4 separate regions of the Homo sapiens genome follow, and all the other regions are linked to region 1. The links are contacts of gene promoters, found by promoter capture Hi-C in blood cells and fetal thymus (Javierre and others, 2016). All regions are on one chromosome and are shown on one strand. Each heading gives the region's core, a stretch centred on a gene start or on the middle of the fragment in contact. The rest is flanking DNA. Distances are from core to core; before and after follow the strand shown. Region 1 holds the start of RAB22A (RAB22A, member RAS oncogene family). Region 2 overlaps STX16 (syntaxin 16). Region 3 overlaps NPEPL1 (aminopeptidase like 1). Region 4 overlaps STX16 (syntaxin 16).

Region 1 (5,189 bases), core at 102-2,601:
TAATGTTAGCTATTTGGATGATTTATATAGGGCTTCTTCACCAGCAAGCACTCCGGTGCTCGGTAATTTTCTGTTTACAAGTAGGCTCTCCCCACACCCTGTGAGCTCCCTGCGTGTAGAGCTGTTTTCAACACATCCTTGCAGGTTCGGAGCCCAACACGTGGCCCCCAGAGCAAATAGCTGCTCAGTAAGTTTCTTGACAGGAGAGAAAACGCTTCCTTCCTTCACCAGAAATGCGAACTTGGATTTCTAAGATGACACCTCCCCCAGCTACCAGCCCTTAACATGATTCCAAAAAAGAGGGCAAGAAGGGACAAGGGTCCCACCCAAGAAATGCGGGGGCCAATGGGCTCCATGGGATAAGAGATGGAGCCGGGCTTGTGGCCAGGACACTTGAGAAGTCCGTGCAACTCCGTGACCGGCCACACCGAGAGGGGGACCTCCCAAACCCCCCAGCAGTCCTAAAAAGTCCCTAGGAAAAGGGCAAGGCCCTGAGAGGGAAGTCACCCACCTCCCAGGTGGCGGACCCCCCGCCCGCCCAGGGTCGACTAGGACTTGGGACTACCCCCTCCGCCCATCCCACGGCAGCTGCAGGCGCAGGAAGAAAAGAAGTGACAGGGAGTCCAAAGTTTCCCCAACAACAAAAATCCTTCCCCCGAGGGAAGGGAAGGGCTCCCACCCTCAGCCCGCCCCGCCCAGGGAGGAGGGACCGCCACCAGTGGATCTAGGCAGTTGGGGGTCCCGCTGTTCTGGTCCCGACAAGGAGTGCCTGGCTTGAGGTTCCCCCGCCCCGCGCTTCGTGCACTCTGAATTCTTTGAGAGGGTCCCAGGGAGGGACAGGGGTGCCCCAACTCTTACTTACAGTCGTCTAAGTCATCCTGCAAGTCCACAAAGTACAGGGGGATCTCTGAAAACCAAGAAACACACAAGAAGTTACCAGGGGGCTGCGGCGAGAGGGGACGGGGTCGGGCAGGGGCCCCTCGGCCTCGCGGGGTGGTCACGGGGCGAGAGAGAGAGGGGCACCCCTGGCATCCCCCGAGCCCAGCCCCACTCACCCGCCATCTTGGGATGGGCATGGAGGCGGGACCGGCAGGGGCGGGGCCCTGCAGACAGGGGCGGGGCCCTGCAGACAGGGGCGGGGCCCTGCAGACAGGGGCGGGGCCCTGCAGACAGGGGCGGGGCCCTGCAGACAGGGGCGGGGCCCTGCAGACAGGGGCGGGGCCCTGCAGACAGGGGCGGGGCCCTGCAGACAGGGGCGGGGCCGTCGGCTTCGGGCCCCGCCCCCGATCCGCGCCGGCCGGCCGGCCCCGCCCTCTCAGCGAAGGTGGCTGCCGAGGTGGGCGGGGAGGTCAGGTGACGCGGCCGGCGTCCCAAGATGGCGGCGGCGGCGGCTCCCGGAAGGCCGCGGCGGCGTCCCGGCTGCTAAGGCGGGCCCCACGCGGCTGGCAGCGGACAGGCCGGACCTACGGCCGGAGGACGGGCGGCAGCCGCCTCTGCGCGGACCGGGGCTGGGCCGTGCGGCGGCAGCGGCGCCAGGGGATGCTCTTGCTGGGCCTGGCCTCTCCCTTCTCAACTTAGGGCGGCGGCGGGCCCGCGCCCCTGGCTCCCGGGCCATGGCGCTGAGGGAGCTCAAAGTGTGTCTGCTCGGGGTGAGTGGCGGCGGGTCCGGCCGGGAGGGCCACGGGAGGCTGGGCTGGCGGGGACCCCGGATCCCCCCTGTCCCCTCATCCCTTCCCCCCTCCCACGTCCAAGACGCTGTCTGCCAGCCCCGTGGACCCTCCCTCCAGCTCGGGAGCCGTCCCGCCCACCTCTTGCACTCTCGAAAAGGTCCTGGAGGCCGAAGGGACCCTTCCCCTTCCCCTCCCTGGAGCCCGTGGACTCTTCCCGCCCCACAAAGAGCAAACAGCCCCCCCTTGCCTCTCTATTGCATCTGGGTTAAGAGAGGTTCTTAAATAGTTTTCTCCCAACTTACCAAGGTATTAGTTGGGAGTTGGCCAAGTCTTCCAAAGTAAAACCAATAACAGGTCTTTAGGTTTTACAAGCAGCATTAGCCTACTTTGTCTCTTGGGTGTTTTTGAACTTGTGGGATACCCCTGCCACTTGTCCAAAGAGTTACTTTGCCAAGTAACTCTTCCTGTGGAGAAAAGGGGTGTTCAAATCAGGAAGCCCCAAAGACTAGTTTGAAGCTTCAGCTTCCTGTCTTGTCAGGAAAGACAAGGTGTTGGCCATTTCAAAGCCTTCTTTCTGAAATTGATGCTGTCATTCCAGAGTTTCTGCCTTAAAGATCGGCAGGAACTCCAATAACTAATCTTTATTCCCCCAAATAGGGTGGGGCTAGGATTCATCAGGGATTACTCAGAGGTAACTCAGGAGTTCAAAGTTTACTAACATATGTTAAAAAGCAAGTGGACTTGTTACTTTTTACACGAAGCAGAAACTTTGGGTCTCTCAAAAGGTCCTAATCTGTCTTAACGGCAAAAACCTCTCCCTTTTAGTACAGTTGGAATTTCCTAATTACTCTACTGAATTTTTATGACAACCGCTTTTGTGTTCCTCCGTTTATAAAATTTACACGTCTAGGGTGATTTTTCTAAAATCCTGAACTTATGCCACAAAGTAGTTTTTGGTGTCTGCCAAAAGGTAAACTTTTTCTCAGTCCCTCATCTCGTTCTCTTTCAGGATACAGGTGTAGGTAAATCGAGTATTGTGTGGCGGTTTGTGGAAGACAGTTTTGATCCAAACATCAACCCAACAATAGGGTAAGAGACTTTTATTTGATACACATCTAAAGGTGCATTGAAAATCCTTCCAAATACATAGTGTGTTACAGGTGTAGGCCCTGCGCTTTGTAGTCATTGAATTCTGAGTCGCTGGTTCGCATCATCTCTGGAAGGACTTGAAAGAGTCCAGTGAGGATCTGTGTATTTTAGGAAAATTATCTTCGGACTTGTTGGGGGTGAGAACTTCAAAATGCAAATATGAATTGGAGTTCTACTAATTATTAGAACAGACACAGAAGCTTCGGTCTATAAATATCAACAGCAATTACACCTTGAAATAAGGCAGATGAAAATAGATCCTGGTGCTATTCTTTCAGGCATATCAAGTAAAAGACATTTAAATGGTTTTTGTCCTTCCTGAAAGTAGTAGGTTGAGATCTGAACCCTTACACATTCCTGTACTGGTAGTAATAATAAATTAATAAATTCATATTGAAATGGAAGGTTTTTTCAGTTCTCTGGTTCTATGGATAAGTAAAGTTGATTGTTCATATGTTTTTGACGCTATAAGAAAACTTTTCATTTTGCAATACTAATCCTTTGACTACATAAGAAGTTGTGTTTTATAGGCTTTAATATTATGTTAACCTTATAAAACTAAATAGGTGCTGTGCTCTAGTTTTAATCATCAAACCCTCAAATGGTTTCCAGCATTTAAAGAAAAAATCTATGTTATCCATCATTAGGATAAAATTGGCCTTTGTGCTCCATGCAGATCATTCTTTGACTAATAGAGAAATATTTTACAGCCCAGGAGAGAAACTGCCATAAGATTGTCCCCTGAGAAATTATGAGCTCCTGCTGTCAGAGGTTATTTATGGATTTTTTTGAGACAGAGTTTCGCTCTTTTTGCCCAGGCTGCGGTGCAATGGCGCAATCTTGGCTCACTGCAACCTCTGCCTCCCGGGTTCAAGCGATTCTCCTGCCTCAGCCTCCTGAGTAGCTGGAATTATGGGCGCCCACCACCATGCCCAGCTAATTTTGTATTTTTAGTAGAGACAAGGTCTCACCGTGTTTGCCATGCTGGTCTCGAACTCCTAACCTCAGGTGATCTGCCCACCTCAACCTCTCAAAGTGCTGGGGTTACAGGCATGAGCTGCCACACCTCGCCTATGTGTTCAATATTTTTTGTCTGCTTTTTTTTTTTTTTTTTCACCCAGGCTGGAGTGCAGTGGCACAATCATGGCTCACTGCAGCCTCAATCTCCTGGGCTCAAGTCATCCTTCCACCTCAGGTAGCTGAGATCACAGATGCACACTATCACACCTGGCTAAATTTTGTATTTTTTAGTAGAGATAGAGTTGCACCATGTTACTCCGGCTGGTTTTCTTTTTTTTTTTTTTTTTTTTTTTTTTTTTTTTTTGAGGTGGAGTCTCGCTCTGTTGCCCAGGCTGGAGTGCAGTGGCGCGATCTTGGCTCACTGCAAGCTCCGCCTCCTGGATTCACGCCATTCTCCTGCCTCAGCCTCCCGAGTAGCTGGGACTACAGGCACCCACCACCATGCCTGGCTAATTTTTTTTTGTATTTTTAGTAGAGACGGGGTTTCATGTATTAGCCAGGATGGTCTCTCTCTCCTGACCTCGTGATCCGCCTGCCTTGGCCTCCCAAAGTGCTGAGATTACAGGCGTGAGCCACCGTGCCTGGCCGCCTATCTGCTTTTTTAAACCCTGTGGGTCTCCTACACATTTGAAGGCATGGGGATGAAATTCACCAATAAGTTTCTGCAATTAAAATGCTTTTCCGTGTCCTTTAAGAAAGAGCTGGGTATGACACATGTAAAACATGACCCCATCCTTCTCAGGGCCTGCCTGTCCCTACCTGCATGGGAAAGTGAAGTGTTGGGAAGTGACAGCAAGTACTGCTGGTGATTCAGTGAGTGATACACTTCACACTGAGTCAGAGCTGAAAACCTAAAATCCACAAGACACCCAGACACCACCTTGGCTAGAAGTGCTCTCTCAAATAAGAAGAGAGAAAAGTGAAGGGTGTAGCTTCATGCATCTTGGTGAGGCACGCCCCATCCTGAGTGTCCACTGTTCCCTTTTTGCCAGTAGCTCCCAATCTGCCAGATGCCTGTGGCTCCTGAGCTGCCTCTAGTCCACTCTCTGCACCAGGAGATTTGGCTCACATTTTCACAGGGAAAATAGCATACAAGGCTTTCTCCTCATTTTCTTTCTTCTGCCTTTTTTTGTTTCTTTTTCCTCAGTTTTAGAAGGTGGCTTCCTCCTTTGTGACCAACCCCAAACATGCCCCTGAGCTCTGGAGCCCCACCTCTTCATGAGTTACCCTGTTTCTTCCTCAGCCCTATCATCTTGTCATAGCCTGCACACAGGTTCCGAATCCACCCCACTCCACCACAAGAGCACCCATTCCCCAACCTACTGCTCAGATGGTGGAACTCCTGAAAGA
Region 2 (5,226 bases), core at 1,417-3,916, 350 kb after region 1:
AGATAAACACAAAGCCTCAAGGGCCAGAAGGAACCTAAAGGTCATTTGGCCTAATGTCCCCATTTGTGATAACCCCTCATGCCTATCTTATTTGGCCATGGTGTATGACAATGATGGAAAATGCCAGCAGCTCCATGATTTTTACCACTAAAAAGTCTTTGCCTGTTAATCCCAACTATTTGTGTCCTGGGGTCCTGCTTTTAGTTCTGTTCCTTCGGGTCTTCCTTCTGTCTGGTAACCCTGCAGCCTTGTTACCCAGAATTCTTTCCAGGCCTAGCATTCCCGGCTCAGAGTGGTTATGCTTTTTTCCTATAAATGATGTTTAGTTTTTCTGTATCCTTTTTAGATTTCAGCATCCAGAACTGAGCAAAATTCTACTTTTTTGTGTTCTTAGTTGTATTAAAGTTAGTAAAACTAATTGTAAAAAAACAGACAGGTTTGACTTTATGCACTCCTAACAAAATACAGTCGTATTTCCCATGCATTTTACTTTGGCCTCAGTTTTGAGTGCCCCATCACGTTCATGCCTCAGGGCAGCATGAAATAAAGGAAAGAGCACTGAGAATTGAATCTGAGAATTGAGGCCTAAGTCCTGTTCTGCTGCAGGCTCAGAGTGTGTCCTTAGGCAAGCCTTTAATCTTTTCGGACATTTTTTGCCTCATTTGTAAACTGAGGGGTTTGGGTTAGGTGATTTCCAGCAGCCCTATCGATTCAACAGTATTTTCTCAAGTTCTGTTTTAATACATTGTTTCTCCTGACTTTAGCTTTAATTTGAAAAGGAGAAATTCATAGTCAACAGTGTTGTAGCTGTCAGTCCAAGGTTACTGACAGAAATCCTTAGAAGTAGCCCCAGTACTGTGCAAAAGTAACTTTCACATTATTATGCCAGCCAAGTGCAGGTTTTAAGGTAGCAACTCATTCAAGCAGCTTGGCTTTAGGAAACTGAAATGGATTTATGAAGCTAAACAATTATTCAAAACAAATTGTAAAGTCATAAAGAAATGAATGAAAGGTAGATATTGAGATGCTCTTCTGATCTGATGAAATTCTGTATGGATTTGTGTGGTTTCCTTCGATCTCCGGGAATGGATCTAATATAGGGGTTGGAGCTACTTTGTTAGTGTTTACTGCCTAATCTATACTCTGCTTTAAAATAATGCATAATCTATAATTGGAAGCTAGCGTTAATTGGTCTTAGATTAGTTTGAAACATAAGCACATTATTTTTAATAAAATGTGTGCTTTAGGAAAAAGGAAATTAAGGATTAACTATGGTTATAAGAAACCTGAGGTCCTTATTCAGGCTTGACTACAATATTAGCTAAGATTTATGGAGAGTTTACTTTGTGCCTGGCTCTGGGCTAAGCCCTTTCCGTGTGTAAGCTCAGCTCATCTTCACAGTGCTCTATCAAATAAGTACTATTGTTTTTCTCAGATACAGATAAGGAAACAGATTTTAGAGGAGGTAGGAAACTGGCCCAGTGTCACCCACCTGATGGCTGGGGGCTGTGATTGGAACTCTGGCAAATCTGGCTTCAGAGCCCCGTGCTCACCTCCTGGGCCACTCTGGTGTTGGCTGCATTTTCAGAACTTGTGCTGCAGATCCTGGAAAATGGAAGGACCTATTGTTTTAAAACAATTTTTTTTCTTGCAATAGGCTAGCATCTTTCTTTATCTCACTTTATGAACCTTACATAGTCAATTTTAACTTGCAGATTGAAGATTCTAAGTTTTAGTACAAGCTGAGTCTGTTGGAAAATTAGTTCTCTGTCTTTAGAATCCAAGTATGAAATCATTATATATTTCTCTTTAGATCTACTTGCTTTTCTGCTTTTAAAGATTCCATGGGAGCAGTGAGGCTTACTTTGAGAATAAGGGTACTTTGTTGGATAAAAGTGAAGCAAACTTTTATTTTGGCAGTAACGGAAATAAAGTAAATATCACTATAGCATAGACCTGTGTTTCCAACTCATTTTGCTCAACTTTTCCAGACTTCCTGAGTAAACACAGATGGGTTTCCACTTATTTTTCAGTTTTATGTAGAAAGTTCTTTAGACTATAAATTCCACATGCTACTTGGAGTTTTCAGTGTTTGCTTGATTGCATGCCATTGGAAGGTCAAAAACCTAGATTTAGACATTATAAAGATTTAGAAGGTGATGATGTGTAGTAACGTGTTTTCATTTGGCTTTATTTTGGTCTTTCTTGATGGTAATTCTAAATGTTTTAATTCAGGTCTTGACTAAATTTCCTGGTAATTTGGTGGCAGACAGAATTTTGAAAGCCTTCTATTTTTAAATAGCAGAATGGTGGGGAGGGTCTTTGAAAAGGTGACCTTAATTTAATATTCCTGATGTGGTGGTAGCTGCCTATCACAAGTAATTCCCTGAATTGTTAATAAAATTAGAGAGGCTGGAGGGTGGGGTGGAAAGAGACCTGAACACCTGGGTCTGTCCCCAGTCTGACCATTAACAAGCTCTGTGGCTTCAAGCAATGCATTTATACATTTTGAAGCTTAGTTTTCTTATTTGTAAGAAAAGACTTATTTCTAGCCCTAGAATCCCATGATTCTGATTTCACCTCTTATCAACTAATAATTGTAGAAATCAGAAGATCAGGGTGTGTGTGCTCGGTTAATAATCCAAGAGCATAGGCACATGTGCAGCAGAGATTTTAACCGAGGTTTGCAATAGTACATCGTTCAAAGATTAAATGCCAGGGAGCCGCTGCAGAATAGGAAGAAGACTGAGATACTCAAGTTAGGGATTTTGTCTTGCATCATGTTTTATTAATAAAAGATTTTAATGTTCTCTTAATGTTAAGCTTTTAAAAAATAAAAACATTTTTTCTTTGTAAAGTAAAAGGTAATTAAATCAGCTTTCCATTTGATTTATTAATATCGTCTAGTACTACTATTATGGCAGGGTGTGTATAGAGTTCTTTTTTGCTCTCATAGAAAATTGTGGAAGGAATGAAGAGGATTTGCAGCTTTTCATAATGTCATCTAATTGAATTTTTACGTGGAGTAAAGTTTGATTACATTTTTATTGCTATCATTGTTTAATAATATTTTGACCCTGATAGAGCAGCTTCATTTGCACTATTTTTAAATAAGAAAGTTATGTTTTATTTTCTAAATTTACTGCTAAACATAAAAAAACACAATTGATTATTGAATTTCACCACTAATTATTTCAGTGATCAATACTGTACAAAAAAAAGACCTAGTTGTTTAGATTATCTGTCATTAGTAAATGTCTGTCCAGAAGATAGAGTTCCATGTTGATCTAAAAAAGAACCTTTACTTTTCAATTGAAACTTAACCCTCTGGTGTCATGCTTCTCCCTTCCCCCTCCCCTTAAAAGAAAAAAATTATTCTTACCTTTTGTTTTGTCTCGTTTGCTTGCTTTTATAAGAGCCTTATGAATAACTGTATGCTTTCTAGCTAATAATAATACATACCAAGAGATGGTAAGAGTTTTTCTTTTATTTTGCCACCTGTGTCTCTCTCCGGGAAAGAGTGGTTTCTCAGCTCTCTTACTACCAGGGATGAAGCCGTGTCTGCGGGATGTAATTTGCAGAGACCTTACATATGTGGTCACTCACATGTTATCTGAATACAGCTACAGACAATTTTTGTGGGTCATTTATTTTTTAATTTTGTTGCATTTGCAGGTCTGATTTACATGTTAAAATATACATTTATTTAACATGATAAAATTACATTTTAGCTCTGCTCTCTTATTTTATTTTCCTGAGGGAAAATAGAATGTGGTATTGTATGTGATATTTGGTGTTTATGAAACAGATTAACAGCATATTTTAGTGAAACCAAAGCAAGTGTGTTTTATCTGTTTCCAGTGTATTTTAATATTTACAGTCATTTTTTGCTTGTTTCCTAGCTCATTTTCAAAACAACCACAGTAAATAAAAATTAAAGCATATATTGATGTAGCTTAATTTAAAAAAAAAAAAGGAGATTTTAAAATGCCTTGCTTAGTGGATCTTTATATTTAGTCAGCTTAAAATCTCAGTGTTTTCTCAACTGACCATGCCTTGTCTGTCTGTCTGTCCCATGCTGCTTTCTTTGTGCTTTCCCCAACTGGATGGGACTGATGGGGACAACATGTCTCTTCAGGAGCTGGACGAGGTATTGTGTTTTGAATATTTTTATATGTTGGGTAATTTGAGTTTATAAAATACCTACTTTTCCTGAAGTCTTTGCTCATATATAAAATGCTAACAGCTTATACATATTTAGCATTTGTTTTGATTACTTTATAATTTTTTTAACAGTTTAATATGTAGAATTTAATCTATTTTCACACCATGTGAACTGATGATTTAAAAAAGGCTTTGGGAAGATCGTTTACTAGTCTTGGGAAAGTGTCTTAACTTTGGAAGCAGTAAAGGTTGAACACTTTCTTCAAGGAAGCCAGAATGTTTTGAGAATTAATGTCTGTAGCTTCCTGATTTCTGAGAAGTGAGTCGTGCACTTCCTCAGGTAGACAGTATAGAAGGCCAGCATGTCTGTGAAGGCCCTAAATGAGAAGGACTGTAGCCACGGCAACTGTGGGAGGGTCTTCCTTGTCACTCCTGTCTGGAATGAGATGACACCCAGTGGATGCACCTGGAGCTATTGTCACCTGGGCCCAGTTCTGCATCTCCTAGCTGGGGGTGCCTTTGGCCTTTTTATTAGCTACTAGCATCTTGCCCAGAAGGTGGAGAGAATATATATTCAAAGCACTTTATTTTAGTAGCCGGAGTAAAAGGGTTGAGAAAAAATGAGATTAAAACTGTTGTTAATGTTTGTGTCTATTGTCTGTTTCAGCATTGAAGGGGTAAGAATATTTTTCCTGAGTATAGACCTTTTAAGTAGAGTGATGGAGAGGTGAGGGTTGTTCTTGTTTGTTTTCATTTAGAAGTATGAATAGTAAAGTAGGATTAGGAGGATCACTGTCCTTAAAACCAGTGGGGTCCTAACTAGTAGATTCAGATCTACCTATATATTCTAAAAACCTTAACTAGTTGATAATGACAACAGACTGAGCACAGCCTAAATAGCCTTCATTGGGAACTGGTTAAATATATTGTGTAGCATCTCTGACCCTCTGTAACAGGTAAATAGTGAGGCCCATCCATGAGAGCTGCAGTGGAATAAGCCCCAGACACATGGCGGAGTGGAAAGACCCAGATGCAGAGCAGCATGGATAATATGATTCCTGC
Region 3 (5,727 bases), core at 2,145-4,644, 390 kb after region 1:
TGGGGACTCCTGTATATTTGTGGAGGCGCAGGGTGGTGGCTGTGCTGAAGGTTCTTTCTACAGGTGGCCGGTGGCCCTGGGTTGCTGGGGGTGGGGCAGGCAGCGAGAGCCATGGTCCCCCTCTCCCCTCTCTTTGCTGCCCTGTCAGTAGCCCTGTGGGTGATGTTTGCCTCTGCTGCCTTTTGTTCCTGGGGGATGGACAAGGGGAGAACATCTGCCTCCCACCTGGTCCCCAGTGATGGCCTTTTTCTCCCTAGTGCTTAGCGAATGCCACAGACGGCGTGCGGCTAGCAGCCCGCATCGTGGACACACCCTGCAATGAGATGAACACCGACACCTTCCTCGAGGTTTGTGGCGTCATCAGGCCGGGGGTGGGACCAGGCTGGGGTGGGTGTCATAGACTCCCAGGAGAGCCAGAGGAAACCTGGGGCTGTCCACACCCTGACGTGGCCAGGGAACCTCAGGGCTGCCCTCGGCGGAGCGCTGCTGTCTGCCGGGCTCCAGGAAGCCTCAGGAAAGGGTGTGTGGGGAGGACAGAGCCTCCTCTTCAAGGCCCCTTGGCAGGACCACAGCCAGAGCTACAGGAAATGAGAGTGTGTGGAGGGTGAGCCCCCTCTTCTGGGTTTCATCACACGCGAAGCTGGCTCCCAAGCCCGGCTCCCCGACGCGGCACAGGCAGCGGTTCATCCCTGGCCCCAGCCTCGGCCTCTCCTGTTTCCAGCCATCTTCATGTGTTGTTGTGCTGTTGTTTTTTCCATGAACATGTCCAGGAGATTAACAAAGTTGGAAAGGAGCTGGGGATCATCCCAACCATCATCCGGGATGAGGAACTGAAGACGAGAGGATTTGGAGGTGGGTGGGGGCTGCATCCCTGCAGCTCTTGGCCTCGGGCAGTGGCCAGGGGCACTTGGGTGGCAGGGGGTCGGCGGGCCACATGGCACATTGTCCCAAACTTCATCCTGCTTGTGACCTGAAAGGAATCAGCCTGTGTCCAAGCCCAGTGCCGGACCCTGGGAAGCAGCCGTCCCTGGGGGAGAAGGGGAGGCAATCCAGATTCTGATTTGGATTCTGGAAGCTGCTAGATCCAAGTCCTTCCCTGCCTGCAGCCTCTCCAGCGTCCTCGCGTGCTGCACACCCTTACTCCTGGGACTGGCTCAGCAGGGCCTTTCTGTTCCTTGAATACACAAGTTCCCATCACGGCAGGCAGGGCCTGTGTGCGGATGGCTCTCCCTATCTGGAATACTTTCCCCCAAGATATATTTTTGGTGGAGGCCATCTCAACCAATGCCCCCTCCTCAGAGAGGCCTTCCCCAAGTCCCCAGACCCACCTTTCCCCACTGCCCAGGAACCAGAGGGGCAGATAAGTATGACTCAGCTGCCCCGTGGTGCTTGTAGACTGGCAAGAGGAAGGCGGCTGTCTGTGTTATGTGTGGCTACAAAACAAATCACTCGGAAGATAGCAGCTGAATGCAGCAACACTTATCCCCTCCCCGTGCTGTGGGTTGGGGATCTTCCCCTGGTGCAGCGTCTCTGCCTGCTGTTGTCAGGTTGTTGGCTGGGGCTGCAGTCATCTGAGGGCTTGCCTGGGGCTGGCGATGTGCTTCCGGGCAGGCTCACAACAGGCTGCTGGCAGGTCTCAGGGCCTCACAGGCCATTAGCTGGAGGCAGCAGGTCCTTGCTGTTTGAGCCACCCTCCGAGCAAGGTCTCTGAGCGAGAGATAGGGATAAAGAGCGAGCAAACAAGATGGAAACTCCCATCTTTTTCTGTGACCTAATCCCAGGAGTGATATCTCATCACTTCTACCTTTTTCTTTTGGTTAGAGGTGAGACATCAGGACCTGCTCACATGAGGGGGAGGGACTGCACAAGGACATGAATACCCAGACGTGGGGGCCACAGGGGCCATCCTGGTGGTGTCTACCTAGACAGGAGCCATTTACAAGTGGAGGGAGAGGCCGCTTGTGTCAGGAAAAGCTTCACAGAGGAGGTGGCATTTGCTGTGGATCTTACAGGATGAGTTGGAGTTTGTCAGGCAGCCATGATTAGCTCTCGTCATTGTTGCTATGATTGTTTGACTCAATTATTGCAGGACTTTGAGCCATAGACTCTGCACACGCACAGGCCACAGCTTTCTTGAGAAGATGTGTCATGTAAACCAAAGAGGCAGTGGTGCAGGGACTGTGGGAGCGAGTGTGAAAGGGCGGTGCAGTCCCTGAGTGCTCAAAGGATTCAGGAAGTGGGGACGAGCATGGGCTGGGGCAGCCTTGAGGTGTTATCCAAACATCGTTTCATTCTGCAATCCTGTTCTTTTCTTTCTGGAAAGGATACAATATTTTTTTCCCTTAGTGGGTTTTCTTGCTTAACAAACAACACTTTGCATAGAATTTGTTTGCAATCTCAGACATTGGAGCTAATTTGCATTCCCCAATCCCACACTGGCCAGGGGCAGGAGAAGGGGCAGGGAGCACCAGGCTCAGGCAGGCGGCTCTCCAGGAGAAACACCAGCCGGCCAGAGTTTCCAGGGGCCTCTGGGAGTTCCCCGCTCAGCTCAGCCCGAGCCTAACCCAGTTCTCCCCACGCTTTCCATAGGAATCTATGGGGTTGGCAAAGCCGCCCTGCATCCCCCAGCCCTGGCCGTCCTCAGCCACACCCCAGATGGAGCCACGCAGACCATCGCCTGGGTGGGCAAAGGCATCGTCTATGACACTGGAGGCCTCAGCATCAAAGGGAAGGTGAGGTGCGGGCTGGCTCTCAGGGTGCCCTGGGGGAGGGGAGGGGAAGGTGAGGTGCAGGGCCCGGCTCTCCCGGGTGCCCTGGGGGTGGGGTGGGGTGGGGTGGGGAGGGGAAGGTGAGGTGTGGGCCCGGCTCTCCAGGGTGCCCTGGGGTTGGGGTGGGGTGGGGTGGGGAGGGGAAGGTGAGGTGCCGGCAGGCTCTCCAGGGTGCCCTGGGGGGGGGGGAGGGGCCCAGTTTGGGTCCAGCCAGCCCTCTGAGAGGTGTCATGGGGTGGGGGGCGGCGAGGTTTCTGGGGGTTCTGGGTTGGGGTGGGTTCGGGGAGAGTGCGCAGGGCGGGTTCCCATGTGCTGAGGCGACAGCTTCACGTGGCTCCCTGGGTTTCATGCCCACCCTTCAGAAGGGTCTGGAAACAAAAGCCTGGCCAGGGCCCAAGAGCAGCCCCGGAAATGACGGAAGAAATGGCAAGCAGGGCCAGGGAGGCAGGGCTTGCTGCTTGGGGGCTTTGTCCCGAGAAGAGAAGGGCAAGGGGACGCCTGTGTCTCTGAGTCTGCCCATGGTCCCCACTGAGAAAACGCTCAGAGTGGCCACACAAGACCCTCCAAAGGCACGTGACCCCCAAGAGCGAGGGGAATCTGGGCACGGCACAGAAGCGAGTCACCCGGGAACATCCCGGTGCGGTGGCCCTAGAAGCCTGTCCCGTGGTACGGCTTTCTGTCCTGCCATCCCAGGAGGACAGGTGCTTGTGGAGCCCCCGTCGTGGCCGAGTCTGCCCGCCCCAGCAAGCCCTGCCCTCCTCCGCACCATCTCCATCCATTCATCCTACACACCGTGTGAGCAGCCTCTGTGCTCAGGCCTGGGCTGGGAAGGACAGGGAGGGAGCAGACTGGGAAGTACATACCTCAGGAGGTCTGGAAGGAGCAGGGAGTGCATCCGCAGCAGACACTGCAAACTAGCAGCCTGCAAGGCTCACGGAGGCCTGGCATTTTTAAAATTTGAATTAGCTACCAATATTTGAAACCAGGAAGGATTCTCATCAAAGCCTGGATTTCCGGCCTTTTGTGCACTCAGAAGGTCTGCCAGTGCTGGCGTTCTGTTCCCGCCTGGCAGCATTCCCCTGCAGCCAGTGGGCCTGCCCCTGGTGTCACCCATTCTCCAGTTTGGTTTGCGGTAGGCCCCACCACTTGCTGCTGCCTTCCTGACACTGAGCCCTAGTGTCAGCTGCTGTTCAGGGTGGCGCTGGTGCAGCTCGCCGCGCTCTCTAGCACGCCTAGTTTATTTCATACCTGGAGAGGATGAGCAGTTCCCATCCCTCCTCTAAACCACAAAACTGTTTAGAACTAAGCAGAAAATGACACTAATCATAAAAAGGGTTTTTTGTTTTTTTTTAATAGAAAAAACATGCCTCCCTATGGGTCTCTTGGGGTAATAGATGGTGGAATGAATGTTTGTTTCTGGCTTTGGGTCTTAGCATCTACACGTTTGACAATGGTTTCATTTAAATTGATCTTCTTTACTAATGTATGTTCAGTAGGCAGAGTTGCCAGCTGTCTTCACTCATAGTTGGTCCAAGAATACTATCTGTTAACTTTGATTTTGAAGAGCTCCAATCTCGTGAGGCAACAGATACACAGATACTTAGGAAAAGTCTTTAATACGGTATCATTTGGCAGAGATTCTTAAAAATCCCATTTCACAGTAAATTCCAGCAATCACAACACCCACTGTGTGTTCAGTTCTTCAGGGTGGATTCTTGTGGCTTTCAGATGTCTGCAGAACAAAAGCATTTTGGACACAGTAACTCCAAGTGTTCACATGGAATGAGGGAAGTGAAGGAACGCAGGTTCCGCGTCTTCGTTTTGACCATCCCGCACTCTCGTGTTTTATTTTGGGTCCTCTGTTTCGACACCGGGAGGTAGGAAATCATGGGCCCTGGAGGCCCCGACTGTGCCCAGAGCCAGCCCACAGGATCTGACTGTCAGAGCGATTCTCAGAAGGAATGTGGGTAGTAGATTTTGTGTCGGGTCATTGCTAACGTCCATGTAATGTTACTTTCAGGATAAGTAACAACGATATGCGAATTTGAAGCTTTTGTTTGTGTGATTAAAACGCAACCGTAGCCACAGCAATTTTTTAAACTTCAATCAACAACAGATTTTCGGAGGAGGAATATGTTATTGCTGACTTTGTTCAGAGATACCGGCACACGGTGGTAATAAGCAAACTGACTTCTAGTCGGTTATGATTCCTAAATTCGCCACAGATAGTGCACCCCCTACTGCCTGCACCTGGTACTGGCTGCTCCCACCCTCGCACGCACCCTCAATACCCACGGTCACCCTGGAAGCCGCTACATTCTGGCTGGTAGAGTCGTGGACCCTCTTCTCCTTGGATCAGATGCTTGTTTTTGATGTCGGCTTGTTGTGGACCAATGTGAGAAGATGAGCTTCCTGGGAATTCATTCGTTTGCTTGTGGCACTAACTCTAGTCACTTAGGGAAAATATCGTTGCACCTGACTTCATCTCATGTGGCTGTGGGTAGACCTGTGCAGTTAGTCAGCTCCCGGCCTGGAAATTAACACAAAGGAAAAACCTGACCACACAGGCCTTCCCTAGAGGCCACAGCTGCACAGCCTTCAGGGAAGCTGTGGTCTGAGGGTGGCTGGTAGAACTGCCAGAGAGTAGGGCATTTTCCATGGCTCCAGATCACCTTCTGAAAATGCGACTATAGCCCCTGCCTATTCCCGGGGTCCACCTGGTCTGCAGACCCCATAATACCAGGAAGAGCTGGGTGTTCTGGCACCAGTGAAACAATACCTGGTTTTTTATTTTAAACCAGCCCATCTTCCCCGCTGCAGTTGGAACCGTTCTACGTGGATTTGGGATCAACCAGCAGGCCTTTCCTGAGCTGTTACTGTGTGGAGTGGGCGCTGAGGCTCCAGCCATTGATGCAAAGACCCCAATCCTGACCTGAAGGCGCTCACAATCTCTCCCCAA
Region 4 (5,150 bases), core at 127-2,626, 370 kb after region 1:
CCCTGAGCTGTCTTTTCAGGGGGCTTGTTGCCATGTGTAGGTGGATATGAGACTCCAGCCTGTGGTGGGAAGAGAAGTCTGACCTTGTCTATGCAGGGTTTTTTTAAGCATTTAGATTAATTTGGTTGCCAAGCCCTGTCTATTAAAAGTGAAAACTAACTTAAGTTTCTCACTCTGTAATACCCAGGTTTTGATGTGCTGCTGAATTATGCATTGGTTTTGAAGTTTCTTAAATAAAAACTAGTGAAATATGTTTTGTAATATAACACAGATAAAAGGAAAAGCTTTCTCTGCGGGAGTGAGCAAATCTAGTGGGAACTAAAAATTTTGTTTTAGGTTCTACTTTATAAATCATTTTGAGAGGTTTTACAGTATATTATTTAGTATTGGCTTCCCTGGTGTTCTGGGTTACTTATTAGAAAAGTCAGCGTGCTCCATCTTCCCTCCAGCCACAAGGCTGTAGGCAGCACGCGCGTGCTCGGCAGTCGGCTAGTCTAAGGGTGATTGAGCGTCGGGAGCTGCTCCCCATGACCGGACTCTCGGTGCTGTCCCCGTGCCTGATGTTTCCTCCTGGTGGATGAGGGGCTCCTCCAGGTGGGCGGGCAGGCTCACTTAGGAAACAAGCCCACCGCGGGGGATGGAGCAGGAGAGATTGCCATTCTCGCCAGGGCTGCCTTCCCGCTGTCTCCTCCTCCCTCCTGTGCCATAGCAAGGTCTGGAAGAGGCAGCGCATGCTCTCCCTGGACGTGCCTCCCGGCGCCCTCTGAACTCTGCTGTCCTCTGGCTCTCCTTTCTCAGTGCTCTGCGTCTTTCGCCAGCCAGGTGGGGCCCTTTGGCATTTCTCTAGCAGGCATGATGGAGTTCCCGCTCCTGCCGAGCTTCCAGGATGCGGTGTTAAGGTGAAGAGATGTGCAGGGTGCAGCCTCGTCCCCAGATTGAGCTTGGAGGGCTCCTTTGCTGTATCGTTAGCGGCACTGGGAGGACGCGCCTCAGAGGGATCTTTCTGCATATGACATCCATGGGGCACACGTGTCTGTTTTTATTTCAAAGGATGAGTTTTTGTTTCCAAATTTAGGGGAGGTCGAAATGGGGCCTCTTCCGGGTGTCTGTTGCCTACCTGCCAGGTACGGTCCTCCAGCCCGTTGTTTCCTTCCGCGGTGAAGGAACTGTGCATTCGCTCCAGGAACACGGACCGGGAACAGGCGACCCGTGCTGCAGGGGCACTTGCCACGGCCTGCAGGAGGAAAAGCCGGGAGAAGCAGGCCCAGCTGCACCCGGAAGCATGAGCTTTCACTTCCCTGTCAGGCTTTGTCTTAGTAGTAGGTTTCCAACAAATCCATTTCCACGTCCAGGGTAAATAAGCAGCACCAGGATCATGGGGCTCTTCCACTCCTGGTGATTGAATTCCGTGGGATTGATTGGAGGGATTACAATCATGTAGCCTGTAGCAGAGACCTCAGTCACTGTGCAGAGAGATCTGGAAGCCTCATTCTGGAAACGAGTGGGACTTGATTTGGGATTTTGGGGAAAATGACGGCCTTTTTTCCCTCCTCTTTTTGTAGGCAGAACAGTATCAAAAGAAGAATCGGAAGATGCTTGTGATTTTAATATTATTTGTCATCATCATTGTGCTCATTGTTGTCCTCGTTGGCGTGAAGTCTCGATAAGTGGCATTGGGTTTTCGTGTGTGCCGCGCGTGTGGATCTCCCGGGTGTGAGGGGCTTGGCCTGCGCCCCGCCAGCTGCCCGCAGAGGTGCAGCCTCGAGGAATCTGAGGGCGTCGGGGCAGCGAACCTTTGCATCCACGGACTCCTCCTTCCCTAGTCCTGCTCAAGCGGTCCGGGGAATGGGTTTTTGTTTTTCCTTCATTGTTGAGAATTTAAGGACCTTTGATACTGCTGCACAATAGAGATTGAGTTCTGGGATCAGTTATAATATATATTTTTTTTAGAAAGAGAAAATGAGCTGAGAGTTTACAGGCACTGCAGAAGCTGTTCAGTATTATATGTGTATATGCTATTTTTTTAGCAGCCATGTCTGAGCAGAATGTTAACATAATTTTTGGAAAAATTTTCTTTAAACCATCTGGTTTTTAAGAAATTTGGTACCAAAAATTGATGAGTAGAGGCAAAAATGCCCCTTCATCTTTCTCTATATATTTTCCAGTTGAAAACAAACTAAGAAGTCCTTTAAGAATTTATAATCCGTTCCCCATTAACTTAATTTAGCTTTTCCATCACTGTTAATGATCAGAGTAACAAAGTGTGAAAAATAAGAAACCATCATTGATGTTAATTAACACATTTAGATGGGCCAGTTAAAACAGCTTCATAAGTTTTAAATTAATTGTAAATGGAATATTCCTCATTTAAAATTTTTGCACTGCATTTTCTACTGTAAACCAAAAGAGGTTACTAAGCAAAACCACCTAAATTTAAGTTGGTGATTTAAATGAATCTCACATTAAAAGAAAGCTTGACAGTGTTATGAAAGCCACCAGACTCAGCCAGTGTGTCCCCATGGGTATCCCCAGCCATCCTTGCTCAATCCATTACTTATATACTAACTACATAATGACCTGTTCAAACCAGACTCTATTTAATGAACTGTGAATTTACACAGAGGCCATTTTAAATGGGTCACCCCATTTAGGATTAGTGGATCTCAAATTATTAACCAAACATCACTCCATTTCAAAGTAAAATATTCCACCAGCGATTTGATTTATTGGCTCTTCCATTGCCACTGAGCAATGCCCAGGAAGCAGGCACATTGCCAAGGACTGGGGGCATCTTGACTAGGAAGCTCCTCGTTTGTGTGAGCGTGGGTCAGACCGCCAAAGTAGGACTTCATCGTTTACCTACCTATTATCAATATGGTGCTTGAATATATTCCTATAACTGTAGAACAGTGTGGAAAGTGATGGTAACTTTGAAGTTGTTCATGTTTTATTGGCTTTGTTTTAATTGACACTAGTAGAGTTTTAATGGTCTTTGTGTAAATTTTAATGGCTTTTCCATTGTTTTTGCTTCTCTTAAAAAGTTTAAGAAGAATATGACCTCATTAAATGTGCTGTTTTATTTGGACCAGTCACACAAAATGTCTCTCTAGAGTTGACTTTAAAGTTGTTTACAGAAATTTAAACTCAATTCCAGAGATTGAAGTTGTCCAAACAGCTCATGGGCTTAGTGTCCAAACCCCTGCCCAGCCTTCCCTTTCCAAGTTGGTGCCACCTCCAGGTAGCCATTGGTGGTTTTCCTATTACTGATGTGGCTGTGGAATGATAAGGTCCTAGAGGGGCCCTGGCATTTCAGGAAGCGGACCTGGTATTCCCTGACAAACATTGCTTAGGAAAGAGGGCCGGAGAATAAGAAGCCAGCACCTCATCAGTCAGCCCTGCAATGTGAGACTTCCGTAGCTGTTGAGAGTCACTGCAGGTGTTCTTTCATCCCATCTGATTTTAACCCATGGTTGAGACGTTCCAAGTTAGATCTGCTGCTCTTAGGTGTGGGGCTGTCCACATTAGGGAACTTGCCTCAAAAACAGTCCACAGTGGCAATACCGGACTTCTGTTCAAGCTTTTTAAAGTGCTGAGCCTTACAAACCCCTGAAGGAAAGTGACCCTTTAAGAGAGGATCATCTTTTTTTATATTTATTTTCACCAAATAGGGTGATGAGGGTTGGTTTTTGTTCCCTCAACCCATTTGGGTAAAATAACGGATCTGATTAGAAACTGTTTTAAGGAGGGGCTGGGCTCGGTGGCTCACGCCTGTAATCCCAGACTTTGAGAGGCCAAGGCGGTCACGAGGTCAGGAGTTCGAGACCAGCCTAGCCAACATGGTGAAACCCCGTCTCTACAAAAAATACAAAAATTAGCCGGGTGGGACACGCCTGTAATCCCAGCTACTCAAGAGGCTGAGGCAGGAGAATAGCTTGAACCCGGGAGGCAGAGGTTGCAGTGAGCCGAGATCACACCACTGCACTCCAGCCTGGGTGACAGAGCGAGGCTCCGTCTCAAAAAAAAAAAAAAAAAATTGTTTTAGCGCTGGGTTTCCCAAGGTGGGAGAGACAGACCCAGCCTGGAGCTGGCCCCTGGCCTGTGTGCTGACTTCTTGGGGTCCTCAAACCACTGTATTTTTCTGTTGAGCCTGTACTTGGGGAGAGATCAGTAGCATTTGAGGAAGTAAGAGAAAAGAATCATGGTACCTCAGGGTTTCTTTCCCTTTACTCGCTGGCAGCCATTGTCTGTGGGCACCTCATGTTTTTCCACACTCTACTGGGCCGTGGAGGTAACGATCACCCAGGCCAGTCTCCTCTGCCTGGGATGCGCCCTCTGAGAGGAGGCCTAGCAGGGCAGGCTCCCTCTGGGCATCCCTGGATGCAGCCTCTGGACACATGCCTCCTTTAAAGTGTCCGGGTGCAGCTCAGGTTGAGTGGAGGTAGAAGGAGAAACAGACATGTTTACCACGCGTTTTCCAAAGCTCCTGATCTTTCCCAAGATTGTAACTGAAAACTGCTGTCTCTTGTTTTGTTCGTTTTGGGGGTGGTGGTGCTGGCTGGGCCATGCTTGTGAAGTGATGTGTGTCTCTGATTTAACGGATTCACTGTTTTCTCTGCTAATTGAGAGAGCGTTATTTACATTATTTATTTGTTTTGACACAAGTGCTTTCAGTGTTTTATCCTAGCTAATGGCTTCTTAAAGGTAATAAAACCCTTCCAACGTAATTGGTCAGATAAAACTTTTTTTCTTGTATGCTTAAATAAAGCAATTAGTGAAGCACTTCTATCCAAAATGACTTTTTTGTCCTTTTTTAAAACCAATTTACTGTTACTGGAAACTTTTTGTACAATAAAGCAATCACGCAGATTAAAGAACATCCTGCAATCCTAGTATTAATTTTAACAATGGGTTCATGTTTTCTTCCAGTGCATTTGTGTTAGGGGAGGGCTTGGCCAGTTTTGTGATCCTCTGGGCCCCTGACTCTGTTTTGTGCCTGAGGCCTTTGCCTCAGTGTCCGAAAGTAGATCTATCTAATGGATGCTTTCAAAGGGACAATCTATTTACTATCTGATATACAAAAAGAACAACTGCCTAAAAGGCAGATAAGTATTTTTCTTATGAAAATATATGCTTTATATACATACCAAGAA

The links. The method cuts DNA at HindIII sites, captures the fragments that hold promoters and counts their contacts. A CHiCAGO score of 5 or more calls a contact.
Region 2: a contact is called between a fragment that was not itself captured here and the fragment with the promoter of RAB22A in region 1, in 8 of 17 cell types (naive B cells, total CD8 T cells, neutrophils and 5 more). The highest score is 9.2, in naive B cells.
Region 3: a contact is called between a fragment that was not itself captured here and the fragment with the promoter of RAB22A in region 1, in 1 of 17 cell types (neutrophils). The highest score is 6.0, in neutrophils.
Region 4: a fragment that was not itself captured here is called in contact with the fragment with the promoter of RAB22A in region 1 in 1 of 17 cell types (neutrophils); the score reaches 6.7 in neutrophils.

What each region holds. Positions count from the first base shown.
Region 1 is chr20:58,308,364-58,313,552 of GRCh38, forward strand. It overlaps RAB22A (RAB22A, member RAS oncogene family), which reads left to right and starts at 1,352. Exons shown (of 7, transcript NM_020673.3): 1 at 1,352-1,649; 2 at 2,680-2,759. The coding sequence starts at 1,614. It also overlaps the pseudogene PPP4R1L. RefSeq lists silencers at 821-1,380, 1,421-1,750. The HindIII fragment of the contact is 7,008 bases long and covers 1-2,184 here.
Region 2 is chr20:58,655,485-58,660,710 of GRCh38, forward strand. STX16 (syntaxin 16) reads left to right here. Exons shown (of 9, transcript NM_001001433.3): 2 at 4,139-4,150. STX16-NPEPL1 (STX16-NPEPL1 readthrough (NMD candidate)) reads left to right here. Exons shown (of 23, transcript NR_037945.1): 2 at 4,139-4,150. Among named protein-coding and RNA genes, the nearest start is that of STX16, 6.8 kb to the left of the region's middle. The HindIII fragment of the contact is 309 bases long and covers 2,513-2,821 here.
Region 3 is chr20:58,698,427-58,704,153 of GRCh38, forward strand. It overlaps NPEPL1 (aminopeptidase like 1), which reads left to right. Exons shown (of 12, transcript NM_024663.4): 4 at 258-347; 5 at 771-852; 6 at 2,590-2,732. STX16-NPEPL1 (STX16-NPEPL1 readthrough (NMD candidate)) reads left to right here. Exons shown (of 23, transcript NR_037945.1): 14 at 258-347; 15 at 771-852; 16 at 2,590-2,732. Among named protein-coding and RNA genes, the nearest start is that of NPEPL1, 8.5 kb to the left of the region's middle. RefSeq lists enhancers at 3,075-3,607, 3,608-4,139. The HindIII fragment of the contact is 2,844 bases long and covers 1,973-4,816 here.
Region 4 is chr20:58,674,625-58,679,774 of GRCh38, forward strand. It overlaps STX16 (syntaxin 16), which reads left to right. Exons shown (of 9, transcript NM_001001433.3): 9 at 1,563-4,902. The coding sequence ends at 1,667. All of the region lies in intron 8 of STX16-NPEPL1 (STX16-NPEPL1 readthrough (NMD candidate)), which reads left to right. Among named protein-coding and RNA genes, the nearest start is that of NPEPL1, 16 kb to the right of the region's middle. RefSeq lists enhancers at 1,203-1,728, 1,729-2,253. The HindIII fragment of the contact is 2,189 bases long and covers 283-2,471 here.